Regions from separate parts of the Homo sapiens genome. Here region 1 is linked to region 2. Evidence: promoter capture Hi-C in 16 types of primary human blood cells and fetal thymus (Javierre and others, 2016). All regions are on one chromosome and are shown on one strand. Each heading gives the region's core, a stretch centred on a gene start or on the middle of the fragment in contact. The rest is flanking DNA. Distances are from core to core; before and after follow the strand shown. Region 1 overlaps NDE1 (nudE neurodevelopment protein 1). Region 2 holds the start of BMERB1 (bMERB domain containing 1).

The links. The method cuts DNA at HindIII sites, captures the fragments that hold promoters and counts their contacts. A CHiCAGO score of 5 or more calls a contact.
Region 1: a contact is called between a fragment that was not itself captured here and the fragment with the promoter of BMERB1 in region 2, in 1 of 17 cell types (neutrophils). The highest score is 6.0, in neutrophils.

What each region holds. Positions count from the first base shown.
Region 1 is chr16:15,653,830-15,659,491 of GRCh38, forward strand. All of the region lies in intron 1 of NDE1 (nudE neurodevelopment protein 1), which reads left to right. Among named protein-coding and RNA genes, the nearest start is that of NDE1, 6.4 kb to the left of the region's middle. The HindIII fragment of the contact is 5,902 bases long and covers 1-5,037 here.
Region 2 is chr16:15,431,644-15,436,724 of GRCh38, forward strand. It overlaps BMERB1 (bMERB domain containing 1), which reads left to right and starts at 2,945. Exons shown (of 6, transcript NM_033201.3): 1 at 2,945-3,116. The coding sequence starts at 3,011. All of the region lies in intron 1 of MPV17L-BMERB1 (MPV17L-BMERB1 readthrough), which reads left to right. RefSeq lists an enhancer at 3,249-3,871. The HindIII fragment of the contact is 15,111 bases long and covers 1-5,081 here.

The sequences.
Region 1 (5,662 bases), core at 837-3,336, 220 kb after region 2:
TGATCCTCCCACCTCAGCCTCCTGAGTAGCTGGGACCACAGGTGTGCATCACCACACCTGGCTAATTTTTTTGTGTTTTTGGTAGAGATGGGGTTTCACCATGTTGCCCAGGCTGGTCTCTTATCTGCTGACCTCAGGTGATCTGCCTGCCTCACCCTCCCAAAGTGCTGGGATTACAGGCATGAGCCACCACACCCGGCCGGAAACAAATTTTTGAAGGAGGCATAGATCTCTGTTGTGCAAAATAGATACTTTTTGTACCACTGGGTCCTAGTTTGTCATTGTTCCTTGCATGATCCCATCAGATTTGTCTACAGAGCTGCTGGGGCATGATGGTGTGGTGGCGTATTAAGAACGCAGGTTAGTGGCACACAGATGAAATAAATGCATGTGGGGTGCATTTTTAAGATAGCAGGTGCAAAGTTGTATATACTGAGACCAGGCATTAACACTTGCCTATTACAGTGCCTTTTAAAACACTATGTGAGGGCCGGGTGCAATGGCTCACACCTGTAATCCCAGCACTTTGGGAGGCCTAGGTGGGCAGATCACCTGAGGTCAGGAGATCGAGACCAGCCTGGCCAACGTGGCGAAACCCCGTCTCTCCTAAAAATACAAAAAATTAGCCAGTCGTGGTGGCATGCACCTGTAATCCGAGGTACTAGGGACGCTGAGGTAGGAGAATCGCTTGAAGCTGCGAGGCAGAGGTTGCAGTGAGCTGAGATCACACCACTGCACTCCAGCCTGGGCAACAGAGAAAGAGATTCCGACTCAAAAAAAAAAAAAACAAAAAAAAAAAAAACAAAACTGGACCAAATGAAACAAGTGAATCTGATCTGCAGTCAGTCAGTTTGCAACCCCTGGGAAGCCTTGGACTTGAATGCAAAGATCCCTTGAACTTGGATCTAGTTTGCCTCTGCTGCTCACATGCACATTTAGAGATGGCCAAGGCATACGGTGTTTCTGCTTCCAAGAAACAGAGTGGTTGTCCTGTTTAGCCATCTCTTACAGTCACACAGCTTAAAGAAGATAATGTTTGCAAACAATTTTTGAAATGTCTAGCACACAGCAAACAGAAGGTCAAATTCAGTACTTAATGCTGATAAAATAAGAGAACCCTTGCAAGTCATGTTGCCTGCTTTCTGCCACAGAGAGTACTGCAATAGAACTTTCTGACGTTTTCATGTTGTTTATTTATTTATTTTTTGAGACAGAGTCTTGCTCTTGTGCCCAGGCTGGAGTGCAGTGGTACAATTTCTGCTCACTGCAACCTCTGCCTCTGGGTTCAAGCAATTCTTGGGCCTCAGCCACCCAAGTAGCTGGAATTATAGGTGCGCTCTACCACACCTGGCTAATTTTTGTGTTTCTAGTAGAGACAGGGTTTCACCATGTTGCCCAGGCTGGTCTTGAACCCCTGGGCTCAAGCAATCCACCCACCTCAGCCTCCCAAAGTGCTGGGACTACAGGCGTGCATCGTGACGCCCTGCTGATTTGTGTATTTTTAGTAGAGACGGGGTTCACCTTGTGCTGGTCTCAAACTCCTGGGCTCAAGCAATCTGCCCACCTCAGTCTGCCAAAGTGCTGGGATTACAGGCGTGAGCCATCGTGCCCGGCCTCTCTCTGACATTTTTGAATGGCAAAGGCAAAAATCTTATACTTTTAAGGATGTGGAGAAATAGGAACACTTTTACACTGTTGGTGGGACTGTAAACTAGTTCAACCATTGTAGAAGTCAGTGTGGTGATTCCTCAGGGATCTAGAACTGGAAATACCATTTGACCCAGCCATCGCATTACTGGGTATATACCCAAAGGACTATAAATCATGCTTCTATAAAGACACATGCACACGTATGTTTATTGCGGCATTATTCACAATAGCAAAGACTTGGAACCAACCCAAATGTCCAGCAATGATAGACTGGATTAAGAAAACGTGGCACATATACACCATGGAATACTATGCAGCCATAAAAAATGATGAGTTCATGTCCTTTGTAGGGACATGGATGAAATTGGAAATCATCATTCTCAGTAAACTATTGCAAGAACAAAAAACCAAACACCGCATATTCTCACTCATAGGTGGGAATTGAACAACGAGAACACATGGACACAGGAAGGGGAACATCACACTCTGGGGACTGTTGTGGGGTGGGGGGAGGGGGGAGGGATAGCATTGGGAGATATACCTAATGCTAGATGACGAGTTAGTGGGTGCAGCACACCAGCATGGCACATGTATACATATGTAACTAACCTGCACATTGTGCACATGTACCCTAAAACTTAAAGTATAATAATAATAAAGAAAAAGAAAAAAAAAGATTGCTGTTTTATGATAAAGTGAAGTGCAGCTGTTACTTCTTCCTTCTTTGCTTCCAGCATCTCTCTTCCCTAAGGATTGCTTTTAAAATGTAAGAGTTTTTGGTTGAAATGCTGTTCCTGTGGTTTTTGTCTCTTGGTTGGAGTGAAAGATTTTGCAGGCTGTGATACAAATCCAGTTCTCTGCTTATTTTCTCCTCAGTCCTTGAAATCCAAAACCAGATCCCTCCCATTGGCCCGTTGTAATTAGAACCTGCCCCACAATAGACGCACCTCCTAAAGCATCTCAGATTCATTTCTTTCCTGAGGATTAAGTTTTTAAACCTTCCTGGCCAAGATAACAGTGTTTTAAGAGGCTCTTTTCTTTTATTATTATTATTATTATTATTACTCTTTTCTTTTTTTGAGATGGAGTCTTGCTCTGTCACCCAGGCTGGAGTGCAGTGGCAGGATCTCTGCTCACTGGAACCTCCACCTCCCGGGTTCAAGAGTTTCTTCTGTTTCAGCCTCCTGAGTAGATGGGATTACAGGCATGTGCCACCATGCCCAGCTAATTTTTGTATTTTTAGCAGAGATGGGGTTTTACCATGTTGGCCAGGCTGGTCTCGAACTCCTGGCTTCAAGTGATCTACCCGCTGTGGCCTCCCAAAGTATCAGGATTACAGGCATGAGCCACAGCACCCTGCCAGGCTTGGGTGTTCAAGGAAGAGAAAGAAGGCAGTGTGGCTGGGACATAAGTGAATGAGAGGTGGTAGGGTAAGAAATGTGTAGAAAACTATGCAGGGGCCTGATCACATTGGATCTTGCACATCTTTTTCCAAACCTCAGGAGGAGTCATTCTGCTTTTGTTGTTACTGGTTCCTCACTTCCGCACTTTATTGTATGCTGACAACCTTCCATACCATGGGACTGAGACTGCCCTCAATAGTATCACCAATGTCTTTTTTTGTTTTTTTTTTTTGAGGCAGAGTTTCACTCTTGTCGTCCAGGTTGGAGTGCAATGGCGTGATCTTGGCTCACTGCAACCTCCGCCTCCTGGGTTCAAGCGATTTTCCTGCCTCAGTCTTCCGAGTAGCTGGGGTTACAGGAGCCTGCCACCACACCTGGCTAATTTCTTGTATTTTTAGTGGAAATGGAGTTTCACCATGTTGGCCAGGCTGGTCTTGAACTCCTGACCTCAGGTGAACCACCCGCCTTGGCTTCCCAAAGTGTTGGGATTACAGGCATGAGCCAACGCACCCAGCCACCAATATCTTAATGGCCACACAGTGCTCATTGATAGATGCCTTGGCCCTGGGCTATTGTTGCTATAGAATTGGTTTGATGAGTACATATTACATGAGATCTGGGCTCATTAGAGCTTATGGCTTGAGCAGGGACTCCTTGGCCTAGGTTTATGCTGCTCCTGGCCTTGTTAATGACTGCTATTAACACTCTACCCCCTTTTTATTTTTTTGAGATGGGGTCTTGTTCTGTCGCCCAGGCTGGGAGGCTGGAATGCAGTGATCTTGGCTCACTGCAGCCTCCGCTTCTCAGGCTTAAGTGATTTTTCCTGCTTCATCCTTCTGAGTAGCTGGGACTACAGGCACGCACCGCCGTGCCCGTTTGATTTTTGTTTTTGTTTTTTTAGTAGACACGGGGTTTCACCATGTTGCCCAGGCTGGTCTCAAACTCCTGACCTCAAGTGATCTGTCTGCCTCGGCCTCACAAAGGGCTGGGATTACAGGCATGAGCCATTGCGCCAGGCACCACTCTACCCTTTTGACTTTGAGCAAGTAAGGTCGTTGATTCCATACATTCATTAAGATTCCTGCGTGGCAGAAATCTAACCCCAACTGGTATAACCAAGACAAGGAATTGATTATCTCATAACCTTAAATCAGGTGTGGCTGCATCTAGGTGTTCAAATGATATTGTCAGGACCCAGGCTCTCCATCCCTTGGCCCAGCTTTCCTCTGTTTTGGCTTCACTCTGAGGCAGGCTCTCCCTTGTGATAGCAAGATGACCACCGGCAGTTTCAGGCTTACCTCCGGCTTCAGGCTTACCTCCAGCTTCAGGCTTACCTTACCAACCCTAGTGGAAAGAGAGTTTCATTTTTGACAGCTATGCAAAAGGTCTGGACCTGGGCCCTCACTGGCTTAGTATGGGTTAGGCCCATCCTTAAGCCAATCATTGGCTCAGCATGGGTTAGATCCGTGACTGTCACTGGCTGAGCATGGGGGTTAGGCTCACCCTATCATTGGCTCTGCGTGAATTAGGCCCACCTCTGTCACTGGCTCATCGTGGGTTAGGCCCACCCATGAGCTGATCACTAAGGTCGTGAATAGGCATATGCCTCTTCCCAGGTGTGGAGGATGATGTCAGATCCCTCTGAACTCATGAAATGAGTAGGGTATTCTCCCAAGGGAATATTGTGCTGTCACAGAAGATGGAAAAATGAATGCATGTCTGGAAAAAACAAGCAAAACTACAAATCATTAGCTTTATATGACATTTATTTATTTTTTGTTTATATGTTTTTGAAATGGAGTCTTGCTCTGTTGCCCAGGCTGGAGTGCAGTGGTGTGATCGTGGTTCACTGCAACCTCTGGCTCCCGGGTTCAAGCGATTCTCATGCCTTAGCCTCCCGAGTAGTTGGGATCATAGGTGCCTGCCACCACACCCAGCTAATTTTTGTGCTTTTAGTGTAGACAGGATTTTACCATGTTGGCCAAGCTTGTCTTGAACTCTTGACCTCAAGTCATCTGCCTGCCTCAGCTTCCCAAAGTGTTGAGATTACAGGCATGAGCCACCACGTCTGGCCAGCTTTGTATGACATTTCGCCTTTCTGCCTTGATCAAACTTTCAGAGAATCTGCTTTCCAGAGGGATGAGTGGGTCGGGAAATAGCATGTTTTCTCTGAATGAGGGAAAGGATTGAAAAAGTAGGAGGGAGAAAGGATGTGAATATGAGTCCCAACAAATGCAGAGTTATCGGTAAGTTTTGTGCTTGAATCTAGGTACAATTGTGCATTTCCTGGTTCTGCATGAATTAGGCCCACCTCTGTCATTGGCTCAACATGGGTGAGGCTCACTAACTTCCACCAGAAGTTAGTGGTGGTGTCTGTGTTGACACTTACATGTTTAGCCTAATGATTTCATGTTTTAACCAAAACTATATAGCTTGTTGGTTATATCTTAGAAAGTGATGGTTTTTGCTCATTCTTTTGTCCCCAGGGATACACACCAGCCTCTAAGTTCTCTTGAGGGAAGGAAGGGACCTTGCACACAATCTTTTTTTTTTTTTTTTTTTTTTTTTTTTTGAGAGGAAGTCTCACTCTGTCACCCAGGCTGGAGTGC
Region 2 (5,081 bases), core at 1,695-4,194:
ATATGTGTGTGTGTGTGTATTTTGGAGACAGGGTCTCACTCTGTCATCTAGGTTGGAGTAGAGTGGTGTGGTCTTGCCTCACTGTAGCCTCGACCTCCCAGGCCCAAGCAGTCCTCCTACCTCAGCCTCCTGAGTATCTGGAATTATAGGTGTGTGCCACCACACCTGGTTAATGTTTTAATTTTTGTAGAGATGGAAAACTGCTTTGCTGCCCAGGCTGGTCTCGAACTCCTGAGCTCAAGGATTCCTCCCACCTTAGCCTCCCAAAGTGCTGGGATTATAGGCATGAGCCACCGCACCTGGCCAAGGTCTGTATTTTTCTTATTGTACTAAACTTGCAACTTTTCTGTAGATTTAAAAATTTTCAAAATACTGTAAATAGTTTAAAAATATATAAATTTTAGATATAGCTGAAACTAACTACTTACCCTTTCCCAGCCTCCTAAAGTAATTACTATCCTGAATGTAATGTTTATTGTTTTTTTTTTTTTTTTTTGAGACAGCGTCTCACTGTCACTGAGGCTGGAGTGCAGTGTCATGATCTCAGTTCACTGCAACCTCCGTCCCACGGGTTCAAGTGATTCTCCTGCCTCAACCTCCTGAGTAGCTGGAATTACAGGTGTGCGCCACCAGGCCCGGCTAATTTTTTTTTTTTTTTTTTTTTTTGTATTTTTAGTAGAGACGGGGTTTCAGCATGTTGGCCAGGCTGGTCTCGAACTCCTGACCTCAGACTAACCGCCCGCCTCAGCCTCCCAAAGTGCTGGGATTACAGGCGTGAGCCACTGTGCCTGGCCTGGTACAACTAATTTTAAAAGCAGGTTGACACTCTAGTCCAACTGGCAGATGTGCATACCCCATGCCATTGTAATTTTTCCCCCTAGAAAAACTCCTATTCAGTCGTACAGGGAAATGAGTATAAAAACATTTGCTGCTGCCATGTTTGTAATTGTGGACAATTGGGAATAATCTTTATACCTCATCAATGAAAAAATAGACCAATTATGGTTCATTCATGTAGAATACTATACAGTAGACTATGAACCAGAGTTACATGAATCAGAATTCGTATTTCTCAAAAGCATAATGTGGGCCGGGCACGGTGGCTCACGCCTGTAATCCTAGCACTTTGGCAGGCTGAGGCAGGTGGATCACTTGAGCCCAGGAATTCAAGACCAGCCTGAGCAACACAGTGAAAACCTGTCTCTATCTTTTTAAAAGGAAGAAAAGCATATTGTGGAACAACAACAGAAAAAAGCAACTTGCAGAATTATAAAGTATGATATCATTTGTATAAATTATAAGAAAATGTTAAATAGCGCTATTATATATAATTTGTAGAGTTATACATATATACCTGAGAACAATAAACATTACATTCATGCAGCCAGGCACAGTGGCTCATTCCTGTAGTCTCAGCACTTTGGGAGACCAAGGCGGGCAGATCACTTGAGCTCAGGAGTTCGAGACCAGCCTGGCCAACATGGTGAAACCACATCTCCATTAAAAATACAAAAAATTAGCTGGGCATGGTGGCACGCCTGTAGTCGCAGCTACTCAGGAGCTTGAACCCAGGAGGTGGAGGTTTCAGTGAGCCGAGACTATGCCACTGCACTCCAGCCTGGGTGACAGAGAGAAAAAAACAGTTGTACCAATTTATACTCCCACTAGCATTAGATAAAAGTTCAAATTATGCCAGGCATGGTGTCTCACATCTGTAACCCCAGCATTTTTGGACTCTGTCTCAAAAAAAAAATCCACATCTTTTACAACACATGATTGTTAGATTTTTTAGTTTTTGCCTATCGGATGATATATTCTTATTTACATTTTCATTTTCCTTATTACTAAGGGGGTTGAGCAGCTTCTCACATTAGGCCTTCCTCCTCTGCCCACATGACATGACTATTCATATTCTTTCCCTGTTTCCTACTGGGATATCATTTTCTTTTTTTCGTTTCTTTTCTTTTTTTGAGACGGAGTTTTCCTCTTGTTGCCCAGGCTGGAGTGCAATGGCATGATCTCGGATGACTGAAACCTCTGCCTCCCAGGTTCAAGCGATTCTCCTGCCTCAGCCTCCCGAGTAGCTGGAATTACAGGCCTGCGCCATCACAGCTGGCTAATTTTTGTATTTTCAGTAAAGATGGGGTTTCACCATGTTGGCCAGGCTAGTCTCAAACTCCTGGCCTCAAGTGATCCACCCACCTCGGCCTCCCAAAGTGCTGGGATTACAGGCATGAGCCATCGTGCCCAGGCACTGCCATGGTGTTTTTTGTTTGTTTGTTTGTTTGTTTTTAAAGATAAACCTCTGGGGTTTCTGGAAAGTAAAGCCCCATGCTCCAAACAGCTCTGCTATACCTGTGTGCAAAATATTTTCATCTCTCTCTCTCTCTCCCCAAAGTGCATGCAAACACATATGGAACTGACATAGGCATCCACTGTCGCACTTCAAATTAAACAGACGCACACGACAGATATTCTCACAGAAAAGCAGTCAGCCAAGCCCAGAACCCATAGATCTAGGTCCACACTCACGCCTCTGCATGCTCCCCAGAAAGACGGATGCATCGCCCGCAGGTAGAGACGGGCTCACCAATCCCACTCAAAACCCGCTGCCGGCTTACAGCTCGCAAGCCGCCCACAGTGCCAGCCCCATGCCAAGCATCACTAGGGGCTCTAGAATAGGCAGGGGCCTTGTTCTCACTTCCTTTGTGTTGCTTTTATTTTAGTTGTTTTGTTTGTTGTTTTTCTTAGAGTTATCACCTGCCCCTCTGTCTCCCTACCCAGCCCCCAAGCCTCCCCTCCAAGCCTCCACTGCGCATGTGCCGTGCATCCCTGCCCCTTCTGGGTACCCGTAGGCGCTCCCGGGCGCTGGCGGCGGCGGAGGAGAGGGAGCAGCGTCACGGGCGCCCGGCCCGTTAAAACGCTGCTGGCTGGAGCCACCTCCCTCCCTGCAGCCCGCAACGGGAATGGAGTAAAGGGAGACCCGTCGACCTGGCCACGGGGATCAGCGATGGAATTAAAGCAATCTTTGTCCACCCATCTGGAAGCCGAGAAGCCTCTGAGGCGCTATGGGGCGGTGGAGGAGACGGCTTGGAAAACGGAGAGACTGGGGAGAAGTGAGTACTGGGGCGGGGGGCGGGGGGCCGGGGACAGCTGGGGATCCATGCGCCTGCGCGGGTGGTCGCGGGAGCGCGAGGAACGCCAGCAGTGGACCCAGGGAAGCGCCCCCGCAGCGGGGCTGGCAGCTCAGGGGGATACGCAGCTCTGCGCAGCGACGCGCTCTCCCCGCGAACAAAAGGGGGGGACCCTCCGGGCTGAGCCTCACTGGGAGGGTTGGGAGATGGCCAGGCAGCTAAGGCAGGAGCCTGGGCTCGACTTAGGAGTCCCGGATCCGTCAGCTCGCAGCTGGTCCTGTGAAGTCGGGTCTCTCCCACAGCCCAGGGAGGAGGATCCTCTCTCCGCCTGGGATGCGCCAGGGCGCTGGAGACGCGGGACCGTCCTGGAAAGCGCCCACGTCCCTGGAGAGGGGGGAGTGTCTGCTGGTTTTCCGCTTGCTTTCCTACCCCCTGCGTGAGGTTTCGGAGCGCACCTGAAATTCCCAGCTTTTCCTCCCTCGCCTTCCTTGGGTCGGGGTGGGAGGCTTGGGGCGGCAAAAGGGTCAAAAGGCACACACCGTTCTCTTTTCTCTCTTGACTCAGTTAAAGTCTGCTTGGGCACAACTCTAGAAGGCAGTTTCGAAATAGACCGGCTGTATTTATTTACTGGTTCTCTCTGCGGTGTTTGGATGTCAACATTTCTAAGTAAACGAAGGATTTTGTTTTTCATTAATAGGATACAATAGTTGAAACTCCTGCCCTCAAAGTGTAGAGGCAGCGTCAGGGGCTCCAGGGTCACTGGAGGTCCCTGCAAACCCGGGGGCTCCCCAAAGCCGCTGCTCTCACATGGCTTGCCCACCAGGCTGGGAAGGAGAGGTCCTTCTCAGGGACCCGGCAGCTTCCTGCCTCGGCTCTGGGTCACTGCTCCGCGCTCTGCCCCAGCACGGATCTCTGAGCGATGTAGGGCTAAAGTATTGTGAATGTGATCTTATTCTGTCCTCACCTGGTGGAAAATTGTGTGTGCGCGCTTTCTTTCTCTATACCTGTAATTATGGATTTAGAAAATCTTCCTAGAAGGGCTCAACTGTGTTCTGATTCTGACGGGTTGAAGTTGAAATCACAATCCAATGTCTTAGTGGTTCATGGGCTAGGATGGATGTCATAGCACTGCCAACCTCTTTCCTTTTCTTTTTTTTTCTCCCTTTTTAACCTTGGTCTTTCTTTCTAGTTCATCCTTTCAAGACCCAATGACTTGGTGCTTTGGCATAATATCAGGGCGTCAGGGCTGAGGGTCTCTGTTTCTTTCTTTAATTTTTAAGTGCACATAGTGGGTGTCCATATTTATGGAATACATGAGATATTTTGATACAGGCATACAATGTGTAATAATCACATCAGGGTAAACGGGGTATCCAAAACCTCAAGCATTTATCCTTTTTTTTGTGTTACAAACAATCCAATTACACTCCTTTTTTAAAAAAGCCCAGCTGTGTGACTAATTATACTCTTTTAGTTTAGCTTTTTTTTTTTTTTTTTTGAGACGGAGTTTCGCTCTTGTTGCCCAGACTGGAGTGCAATGACACAATCTCGGCTCACTGCGACCTCCACTTCCTGGGTTCAAGCGATTCTCCTGCCTCAGCCTCCAGAGTAGCTGAGATTACAGGTGCTCGCCACCATGCCTGGCTAACTTTTGTATTTTTAGTAGAGATGGGGTTTCACCATGTTGGGCAGGCTGGTCCCGAACTCCTGACCTCAGGTGATCGGCCTGCCCTGGCCTCCCAAAGTGCCGGGATTACAGGTGTGAGGCACCCCACCTGCCCTCTTTTAGTTATTTTTAAATGTACAATAAATTGTTGACTGTAGTCATCGTGTTGTGCTATCAGATACTAGATCTTATTCATTCTATCTACCTATATTTTTGTACCCATTAACCATCTCTGTGTCCCCCCATCCCAATACCCTCCCCAGCCTCTGGTAACCATCATT